Regions from separate parts of the Homo sapiens genome. Here regions 2 and 3 are each linked to region 1. Evidence: promoter capture Hi-C in 16 types of primary human blood cells and fetal thymus (Javierre and others, 2016). All regions are on one chromosome and are shown on one strand. Each heading gives the region's core, a stretch centred on a gene start or on the middle of the fragment in contact. The rest is flanking DNA. Distances are from core to core; before and after follow the strand shown. Region 1 holds the start of APLNR (apelin receptor). Region 2 has its middle 7.0 kb from the start of OR5AK2. Region 3 overlaps LOC105369309 (a long non-coding RNA gene).

What was found. Contacts are between HindIII fragments. The CHiCAGO score rates a contact against its expected background, and 5 or more counts as called.
Region 2: a fragment that was not itself captured here is called in contact with the fragment with the promoter of APLNR in region 1 in 1 of 17 cell types (endothelial precursors); the score reaches 6.1 in endothelial precursors.
Region 3: a contact is called between a fragment that was not itself captured here and the fragment with the promoter of APLNR in region 1, in 1 of 17 cell types (endothelial precursors). The highest score is 5.2, in endothelial precursors.

Annotation. Positions count from the first base shown.
Region 1 is chr11:57,236,000-57,239,499 of GRCh38, reverse strand. APLNR (apelin receptor) reads left to right here and starts at 2,250. Exons shown (of 1, transcript NM_005161.6): 1 at 2,250-3,500. The coding sequence starts at 2,496. RefSeq lists an enhancer at 1,976-2,608. The HindIII fragment of the contact is 5,179 bases long and covers 1-3,500 here.
Region 2 is chr11:56,994,116-56,997,615 of GRCh38, reverse strand. No RefSeq gene overlaps it. Among named protein-coding and RNA genes, the nearest start is that of OR5AK2, 7.0 kb to the right of the region's middle. The HindIII fragment of the contact is 3,313 bases long and covers 199-3,500 here.
Region 3 is chr11:57,096,293-57,099,792 of GRCh38, reverse strand. All of the region lies in intron 6 of LOC105369309 (a long non-coding RNA gene), which reads left to right. Among named protein-coding and RNA genes, the nearest start is that of LRRC55, 84 kb to the left of the region's middle. The HindIII fragment of the contact is 987 bases long and covers 1,419-2,405 here.

The sequences.
Region 1 (3,500 bases), core at 1,001-3,500:
CTATCTTTGCATTTTTTGTTTCCTCCTCCTGCCCCATCCTCTTGGTTCTTCTCCTGCCTTCTATTCTTGGCAAGCTCCTGTTTAAAGAACACAAACTCGGGGGCCAAAGACATGTTTTACTTATCATGGTCTGTGCTTTTTTTTGAAATGAAAATTGATTTCCAAAATTTACAAATATGAAAATTTCTTACAAAAATCCATAATTTGAAATTATCTTGGAAAAATCCTAAGACACAGTCATGCTGGGGTCCAGCTTTCTGCGTGGCAACCAGAGACTAGAGCTGAAGAGGCCTCCCTATGATGGAATGGGCACCCTCCAGTTTGCCACAGTCTTTACCATTCTCTGTTGTCTCAAACTACACTCTTGGCCTGTTTTTTTTTTTTTTTTTTGCAGGTATTTGAGTTTGAGTTCCTTGATCTCTGCATATGATTTTCTGATCCACTCTCCCTCCAGAAAATGGATTCCAGCTTTTGTAGTAACTTAAGACAAATATATATCGTGAGACAGGGTCTTGGCTGTGTTATTCAGGCTAGTCTTGAACTCCTGGGCTCAAGCAGTCTTCCTGCCTTGGCCTCCCAAAGTGCTGGGATTATAGGCATGAGCCACCTTGCCTGGCCAATTCCAGCTTTTGTAAGTCTTTTGCCTTGGAAGTGGCTAAGGCTCAGCTCCTGCTTTTGTTCCATCTCACTATTACCCAACGTCAGGTGGCTTCCCCAACTCTTCAAGGTTGTGGAAAGGGTGCGTATTTTTTAAAAAAAATCTTACGTCGTGCATCTTCCTTCCTTCCTAGAGGTCCTGGAGAGGTGATGAGCTGGGGCAAAGTGAGCGTCTACGGAACTTTCCCCACAGTATCCTCCAGTGACTGAGTCTTTCTCTAGAGACCCCCCTCCTCTAGCTCAACTTCCTGACCCCCTGTGGTCTTACAGAAACCTCTTGGTCCATGGAGGATAGTAAAAACCTGAGAACTGAAATGTATCCATGTTCTCACCACGTAGTAATTCTTACACTTGTTCTTCCATCTATGGATTCCCCTTTTCACTCACCTCCTACATCATCCATCCACTTACTCACTCAACAGCCATTCACCTGGCTGGGCGTGGTGGCTCATGCCTGTAATTTCAGCACTTTGGGAGGCCGAGGTGGGTGGATCATCTGAGGTCAGGAGTTTGAGACTAGCCTGGTCAATCCCCATCTCTACTAAAAATACAAAAAAATTAGCCTGCAATCCCAGCTACTAGGGAGGCTGAGGCGGGAGAATCGCTTGAACCCAGGAGGCAGAAGTTGCAGTGAGCCTAGACCAGCCTGGGCAACAAGAGTGAAACTCTGTCTCAACAAACAAACAAACAAACAAAACAGCCATTCACCTACGACATGCCAGGTACTGTATTATGTTCGTGTTTGGAGAAGAAGAAAAGCAAACAATCAACTGTAGCATAATTCACTTTATTACCTTGGGCAAAACATTGACCTTGTTGGGCCTTTGTTTCCTACAGATTTAATGACTTGTTTAGAGATAATTTTGTCCTGGGTTTCTTCCATCCTGTGACTGCCCTCAACCTTCTAAAGCATCCTGTGCCTTCCGCAAACTGCAAACTGCAGTCTACACTAGTGTAGGGGTATTTCTCTAGAAACCACAAAAGTTCTCAGAGGGAGGGTCAAAGCCAAGGGGTAGAGAAAGATGAAGCGAGAGGCAAAGTGGGAGAAGACCCTCCTGTGACACCTGGTCTGGGTGGGGGCTGGGGGTGCAGGAAGGGAGCCGAGGGGGCCAGACCTGCCTGCCAGGAGGACCTGCCAGATGCCCTGCCCATCCTGCGAAATCTTACACCCTCCTTGCTCCCTACCAGCCCTGGCTCCAGCTCAAGCTGGATTGCAATCTGCATAATGTGTCCCATTTAGATTGGATGGAAGGGGGTGAGAACAGGAGGGCGGAGAGCACTGAGGAGGGAGTGCCCTAAAGGGCAGGCAGGAAGTGGTGGCCAGAGGAAAGTGGAGGGATAGGGGCTGGGGTGAAGGTGGGTGGCAGCCAGAAAGGAGAGGCGGGGCCAGGAAAGCCGACTTGCAAAACCACAGATAATGTTCAGCCCAGCACAGTAGGGGTCAATTTGGTCCACTTGCTCAGTGACAAAAAGAAAAAAAAAGTGGGCTGTCACTAAAGATTTTGACTCACAAGAGAGGGGCTGGTCTGGAGGTGGGAGGAGGGAGTGACGAGTCAAGGAGGAGACAGGGACGCAGGAGGGTGCAAGGAAGTGTCTTAACTGAGACGGGGGTAAGGCAAGAGAGGGTGGAGGAAATTCTGCAGGAGACAGGCTTCCTCCAGGGTCTGGAGAACCCAGAGGCAGCTCCTCCTGAGTGCTGGGAAGGACTCTGGGCATCTTCAGCCCTTCTTACTCTCTGAGGCTCAAGCCAGAAATTCAGGCTGCTTGCAGAGTGGGTGACAGAGCCACGGAGCTGGTGTCCCTGGGACCCTCTGCCCGTCTTCTCTCCACTCCCCAGCATGGAGGAAGGTGGTGATTTTGACAACTACTATGGGGCAGACAACCAGTCTGAGTGTGAGTACACAGACTGGAAATCCTCGGGGGCCCTCATCCCTGCCATCTACATGTTGGTCTTCCTCCTGGGCACCACGGGCAACGGTCTGGTGCTCTGGACCGTGTTTCGGAGCAGCCGGGAGAAGAGGCGCTCAGCTGATATCTTCATTGCTAGCCTGGCGGTGGCTGACCTGACCTTCGTGGTGACGCTGCCCCTGTGGGCTACCTACACGTACCGGGACTATGACTGGCCCTTTGGGACCTTCTTCTGCAAGCTCAGCAGCTACCTCATCTTCGTCAACATGTACGCCAGCGTCTTCTGCCTCACCGGCCTCAGCTTCGACCGCTACCTGGCCATCGTGAGGCCAGTGGCCAATGCTCGGCTGAGGCTGCGGGTCAGCGGGGCCGTGGCCACGGCAGTTCTTTGGGTGCTGGCCGCCCTCCTGGCCATGCCTGTCATGGTGTTACGCACCACCGGGGACTTGGAGAACACCACTAAGGTGCAGTGCTACATGGACTACTCCATGGTGGCCACTGTGAGCTCAGAGTGGGCCTGGGAGGTGGGCCTTGGGGTCTCGTCCACCACCGTGGGCTTTGTGGTGCCCTTCACCATCATGCTGACCTGTTACTTCTTCATCGCCCAAACCATCGCTGGCCACTTCCGCAAGGAACGCATCGAGGGCCTGCGGAAGCGGCGCCGGCTGCTCAGCATCATCGTGGTGCTGGTGGTGACCTTTGCCCTGTGCTGGATGCCCTACCACCTGGTGAAGACGCTGTACATGCTGGGCAGCCTGCTGCACTGGCCCTGTGACTTTGACCTCTTCCTCATGAACATCTTCCCCTACTGCACCTGCATCAGCTACGTCAACAGCTGCCTCAACCCCTTCCTCTATGCCTTTTTCGACCCCCGCTTCCGCCAGGCCTGCACCTCCATGCTCTGCTGTGGCCAGAGCAGGTGCGCAGGCACCTCC
Region 2 (3,500 bases), core at 606-3,105, 240 kb after region 1:
ATCTGGGAGGGACCCATAAGAGAAATAAAACCTCAATATTCTCCTGTGGAAATATAATGGGCCACCTCTTGGGGAAACATCCTTCAGTCCCCAGGATAGCTACAATCAGACAATGGCAAGCTTCATATACCAGCTGCCAACCAATGGTAAACTCTTAAAAGCCTTCACCAGTCCTTCTACCTAGGTAAGAATAAAGCTTATCAACTCTCTCAGAGATTGTTCTCAGGCAAAAACCTTATACAAACAATTAAACAGGTCGATAATGCTTGTGAGACCTGCTTTAAAAACAATCCTCTTAATTGATGGCTTCTTCCCTCAGGAACCCAGAGGACAAAGGCTACCTTTTGGCAAATGGATTTCACTCATATGCCAAAAGCAAGAGGCATCCAGAATCTCCTAGTATGGATAGATGCTTTCATTAACTGGGTAGAAGAATTTCCATGTTGGACAGAGAAAACCTCTGAGGTGATAAAAGTACTAATCAATGAGATAATTCCTCACTTTGGACTCCCTAAGTGCCTCCCGAGTGATAATGGCTCTTTGTTCAAGGTGACTGTCACCTAGGGGGTCTCAAAAGCACTAGGTATACAGTACCATCTTTTTTGTGCCTGGAGACCACAGTCCTTAGGAAAGGTAGAAAAGACAAATGATATTATCAAAAGGTACCTCAGGAAACTCTCAGGAAACTCGTCTCTGCTGGACTACCCTTCTCCCCTTATCCCTGCTATGTATTAGAAACACTCCTTCAAAGCTGGGTTTGAGTCTCTTTGAGAAACTCTCAGGAAACTCATCTCTGCTGGACTACCCTTCTCCCCATATCCTTGCTACATATTAGAAACACTCCTTCAAAGCTGGGTTTGAGTCTCTTTGAAATGATGTATGGACAGCCTTTTCTCACCAATTATTTCTTTCTAGACCAAGAAACCTCTGATTTAATTAAATACATAACCTCGTTGGCCCATTTCCAACAGAAACTGCAACAATTGTCAGAGGCCCAATCCCATGAACCAGGGCGACCTCTATTATTAACTTAGGGTCCCTAGTGCTAGTAAAGGCATTTCCTTCCTTTTCTTCCTCTATAGGCCTAGGTTGAGAGGGACCTTACACTTTTCTTCTTTCTACTCTTAGGGCAGTGAAGGTCACAGAAATAGACTCTTGAATTCATTATACCTGAGTAAAGGCCTGGGAAGGTGATGGAGTCACCGCCGTTGACCCAGAAGAGCACCCAAAGTACCAATGTGAAGAGATCATGGACCTCAAGCTAAAAATCACAAAAGATAAGTGTTATGAATTTAACTTCCATGGATATCCTCCTTATAGTGTTGCCTATGCTTGCTGTTCTTACCTTTGTTCTGTTCTATACCATGGGGCACAATAGTGTTTTTAGAATAATTACCATTCTTATTCTGTACACTTCTTATTTCTGTAATCTTTGGCACTAGATTCTTTCCTTGTATAATACACATTTAACGCATGCACACTTAACCTTACAAAACTTGTTTTTTTTTTTCTCTCTCACATAGAGGCCATCAAACTCCAAACAGTCAGGCAATCTGACCCTCAGACGATGGTTCCCCTTTGCCAGGGACTCTTAGATAGACCTCTAGGAAGAATCTGACTGCCATTTTCCCCAAAACTATGCCCACTGTCAACAAGAAGTAGCTAAGATTGGTCATCGCCCATATTCTAGCAGCAGTTAGATGTGCCTACTCAGAGGGGGAAATGATATGGACAGGAGACAGGGAAATACTGGGTAGAAGAGGGCAGTACCCTGGCAAAGGCCTAACTCTCAAGCCTGGAGACCCATGGCCCTAAGTAGGAACAGGCATTTCTGTTTTTGCACCCAAAATATTGCCTTTTGGCCCACCATGCCCCCCCTTATCCTCAACCCATATAAACCCCAAACACCAGGCTTCAGAAGCAGATGAGACGAGACAAGGAGACAAACAAGACAAATGGCAGAATGGTGTGGCAGAGAGAGAGAGAGAAGAAAAGGAATGACTGAACAGCAAGAGGAGTTCAGCTGGGGGCAATCGAAGAGGAGTTTGGCCAATGTATGGCCAAAACTCCAGGGGAAGGTCATCCTCTTACTCTTTCCCCCTTCCAGTTCTCCATCCATCCCACTGAGAACCACTTCAATAACTACACATTCACCCTTCAAGCTCATGTGTGACCTGATTCTTCTGGGATGCTGGACAAGAGCTCGGGATGCAGAAAGCTGTCACACTGGCCGTTTGCCCTTGTGGGTAGGCAGAGGATTCACTGAGCTGGTTAACACTTAAGCCCTCTGCAGATGGCAAGGCTAAAAGAGCATTGTAACACTGGGGCTGCAGGCACCCACCCCTGGACACTACCATGGGGCTGGAGACCAAAGCACACATTCTGGCTCCTGCAACTGCTCATCTCCATGCTCACCCTCCTGTCAGGGGTTTGAGCAGTGGTGGCTTGCTTGGTGGCAGCCAAACAGGCAAGCCACACCCCTGTCACACTTCCTGTGAGGAGGATCAGGGAAGTCTCTCATTTTAATATGATATGGTTTGGTTGTGTCCCCACCCAAATCTCATCTTGAATTGTAACTCCCACTATTCCCACTTGTCATGAGAGGAACCCGGTGGGAGGTGACTGAATTATAGGGGTGAGCTTTTCCTGTGCTGTTCTCATGACAGCAAATGAGTCTTATGAGATCTGATGGTTTTAAAAATGGGAGCTCTCTTCTCTTTTCTGTCACCATCTGAGATGTGCCTTTCACCTCCCACCATGATTGTGGGGCCTCCCCATGCCATGTGGAACTGTAAGTTCAATAAAATTCTTTCTTTTGTAAATTGCCCAGACTCAGGTATGTTTTTATCAGCAGCATGAGAACAGATTAATACAGTAAATTTGTACCAGGAGTGGGGTGCTGCTGAAAAGATAACCTGAAAATGTGGAAGTGACTTTGGAACTGGGTAACAGGCAGAGGTTGAAACAGTTTGGAGGGTCCAGAAGAAGACAGAAAAATGTGGGAAAGTTTGGAACTCTCTAGAGACTTATTGAATGGCTTAGCCCCAAATGTTGATAATGATATGGACAATAGAATTCAGGCTGAGTTGGTCTCAGTTGGAGATGAGGAACTCTTTGGGAACTGGAGCAAAGGTGATTCTTGTTATGTTTTAGCAAAGAGACTGGTGACATTTTGCTCCTGCCCTAGAGATCTGTGGAACTTTGAACTCAAGAGAGATGATTTAGAATATCTAATGCAAGAAATTTCTAAGCAGCAAAGCATTCAAGATGTGACTTGCATGGTGTTAAAGAAATTCAATTTTAAAAGGGAAACAAAGCATGAAAGTTTGGAAAATATGTAGCCTGACAATGTGATAAAAAAGAAAATCCAATTTTTTGAGGAGAAATTAAATTTGGCTGCAGAAATTTGAATAAGTAATAAGGGATCAAGTGTTATTCACCCAGACAATGGGGAATATATCTCCAGGGCATGTCAGAGACTTTTGGGTGGAAGCCCCAAG
Region 3 (3,500 bases), core at 663-3,162, 140 kb after region 1:
CACCTTCTTCCGCCTTGGCCAATAAAGGTGTGAGCCTCTCTTCCACCTTTTCCTTTAGTCATGTGACCTTGGGCAAGTTGCATAATGTCTTAGCTTAATTCCGCTCTTGAAAAAGCTTAATAGTACCAATAGTATTTTATTTAACACCTACAATTTTCCAGGCACTGCTCCAAGCACTCACACCTTACTAACTCATTTCAATCCTCTTGACAACCCTATGAGAGAGGCACTATGATTATCCCTCTTTAATAAATAAGCAAACAGGCAGAGAGAGATCAACTAACCTGCCCATGATAACACAGCTAGTGGATGGTACAGTTGGGATTCAAAAGCCCACTAACTGCCTCTGAAATCTATCCTAATAGTACTAACAATATTAGTATTATTATATTATTTGCAATAATAATACTATCAATTATTAATAATACTAGTTAACACTAACAACAGTAATAATATTGTAACTAATAGTACTAATTGAAGGCATGTACTAGATGGGTGATTCTAACCAAGTGAATTACTTAACCTCTGGAGCTTCCATTTCTTCATTTGTCACCTGGAGATAGCACTGCCATCTGCTTCACAAGGCTGTTGAGAGGATTTAAATGAGCTAATGCATTTAGAGCATTCACATGCCACACAGTACCACCTGATAGATTTCTTTTTATTGTGGTATAATATATATAGCATAACATTTATCATTTTAACCATTTTTAAATTACAGTTCATTAGCATTCATTATATTCATATTGGGCATTTACCTAATAGATTTTGTTTGTTTTTATATTTCTAGGATCTGTAGAGTGCTTTGCACAAAAATTTGACCCGTTGTAATTATTTAATAAGCTCCTTCCCTGTCCCTCCACCAGCCTTCATAAACTCTAAAATGCTGCAGAGGTTTCAGTTACTATTCTGAGAATTAATGAGGAATCCTAAGTGACCTTGGGCATTTTATGACTTAACTTCTCTCTGGCTCAATTTCTTCATCTGTGAAATGGAGATTACAGTACCAGTCACTTGTTGGGGTGGTTGGAAATGACATAACCTGTGTGATGCTTTGGATAGTTCTAGCCATGTTAAACACCCAATGCATGATAGTGATAATGTTCTTATTTTATCATAGTCCTTGTCCCTGAGAAGGCACACTTGCATGGGTGCAGAGGGATTGGAGGCTGGCTCTGGTTCAAGACGGCTGCTTTTCCTCAGTTCCCTCCCTGCTATCCCGACAGTGGGGGCTCAGGAGAGACTGAACAATTGTGCAAACAAGAGGAGTGAGCCTTTCAGGAGACCACAGAACTTTTTGTTTTATAAAAAGCTTCAAATCAGGCTGCCATAGTGGCCTTGGTATTTTTGTATCTATCTTTTCAGCTTCTATTTAGAGTGCAGAGTTGGCGTGGGAATGTTTTCCTTTATTTCAAGCTTTAAGTAGTTGTTGGGTAACAGCTGTTTTTAAAGATAATCTTTGAGGCACTGAGATGCTGCTGTAAAAACAAATTTCTTGAATACAAAAAAGTCTTCCTTATTTTATGTGCTGGATTTTATTTTTCTGCATGCTTTTGTTCATGCTGTCACTTCTAGAATTCTCTTTCTATCCTAACTCTTGCTCCTCTGCTATTGTCAAAATCATCCCCATTCTCTTGCTGACATTTGTCTCGTGCAGCATTCCCCATTCCCTCATCGATGACATTCTATGGGCCTCGTATGAGTGCTCTGCCTTGAGTGTTGGTTAGTTCTAAATAAGGCATTCGTACCTTGATTGCAGCTTCTGGAGACTATAAGGTCTTGTTCTATTCATAACTATTTCCTGCTTGTCATTAAGTAGAAAACTACTGTATATCTTTCTCTTTGTCAAATTAATATCCAAACACTCTACTTGTTTTGGTGGGGGGGACCCTAAATAAGTATATAGAATGTTCTCTCCTCTTGCCACAGATGCAAGATGAGACACAAAGGGATCCATCTTCTCTGTCCTCTGGCTGGTGGAACACAGCAAAAATCATGGCCAGTGTTAGCGTTAGCATTGCTCATTCCTGCTTAAGCCTGATTTCCAGCCTTCCTTTCAGCATTGCAAGCTACCAGAAACCCCCTAAAAATAATTTTCTGTTTAATTTAATTAATCCTGGTTTCTGTTGTTTGCAATTGCAACCAATAAGTTTTACTAGTATAGTATTTTGAACACAGTGGAAACTGCAGGATCTACAGATCCTGTTTATAAACTTCAGTTTGCTAAAATCCCATGTAGTAATCTGTTTTTTAGGCCTCTTCAGTCTTCTGATGCCTGATGTCCCTTCTGATACTAGCAGCCTGATTTTATTTTTCCAAACCACTTATCTCTATTCTTAGTCCTTGTGGTTCAAGTGGAGTTGACTCCAGTCATGCCTACAGGGTAGGCATGTCTGGACAAAGCTTTGAAGCCCTCTGGCTACCATGATTGGTTCAGGGATGGGCATGTGACTTCATCCAGGCCAATGAGAGTCAGTCCCAGGACTGTTGCGGGATCTACAGGGAAATAAATGTGTCCTTTTGCTGTAGCTGCTAAGTTGGTTGGCTGGAGTTCCCAGGGACCACCATGAGGGAGGGTCGACCTGAGAATTCAGCAGTGTCAGAGGAAAACAAGCTGAGAGAGGAAGAGAAAGAAATTTCTAATGACATTGCTTGAGGAACTGGATTGGAATGTGCCTGAGTTGTAATAGTAACAGCTAACATATATTAAATACATACTATGTACCAGGCATTGATGCAAGCATTTCTTATATTGTATTAGTTTCCTGGGCCGCCATAGCAAAAGTACCACAAACTGGGTGGCTTAAAACAACAGAAATTTATTTTTTCATGATTCTGGATTCCAGAAGTCCAAATTCAAACTATTGGCAGGTTCATGCTTCCCCTTATGAACTGAATTTTGTGCCCCCCACCCCCTTGCCATTATATGTTGAAGTCCTAACTCCCAATGTGACTGAATTTGGACATAGGACCCATAAGGAAGTAATTAAGGTTAAATGAAGCCATAAAGATGGGGTCTGGGCCGGGCGCGGTGGCTCACGCATGTAATCCCAGCACTTTGGGAGGCCAAGGCAGGCGGATCATGAGGTCAGGAGATTGAGACCATCCTGGCCAACATGTGGAACCCCATCTCTACTAAAAAATACAAGAATTAGCTGGGCGTGGTGGCACGTGCCTGTAGTCCCAGCTAGTCAGGAGGCTGAGGCAAGAGAATCGCTTGAACCTGGGGGGCGGAGGTTGCAGTGAGCCTAGATAGCGCCACTGAGCTCCAGTCTGGCAACAGAGTGAGACTCCGTCTTTAAAAGAAAAAAAAAAAAGAAAAAAGAGAAGGGGTCTGGATCTCACAGGATTAGTGTTTTTAGAGACAAGACACCAGAAACCCATCTCTCCTCCACCACCCCACCATATAAGGACACAGCAAGAAGGTGACCATCCTATCTGCAAGCCAGACAGAGAGCTCTAAACAGAAACTGACTCTGCCAAATCTTCATCTGGGACTT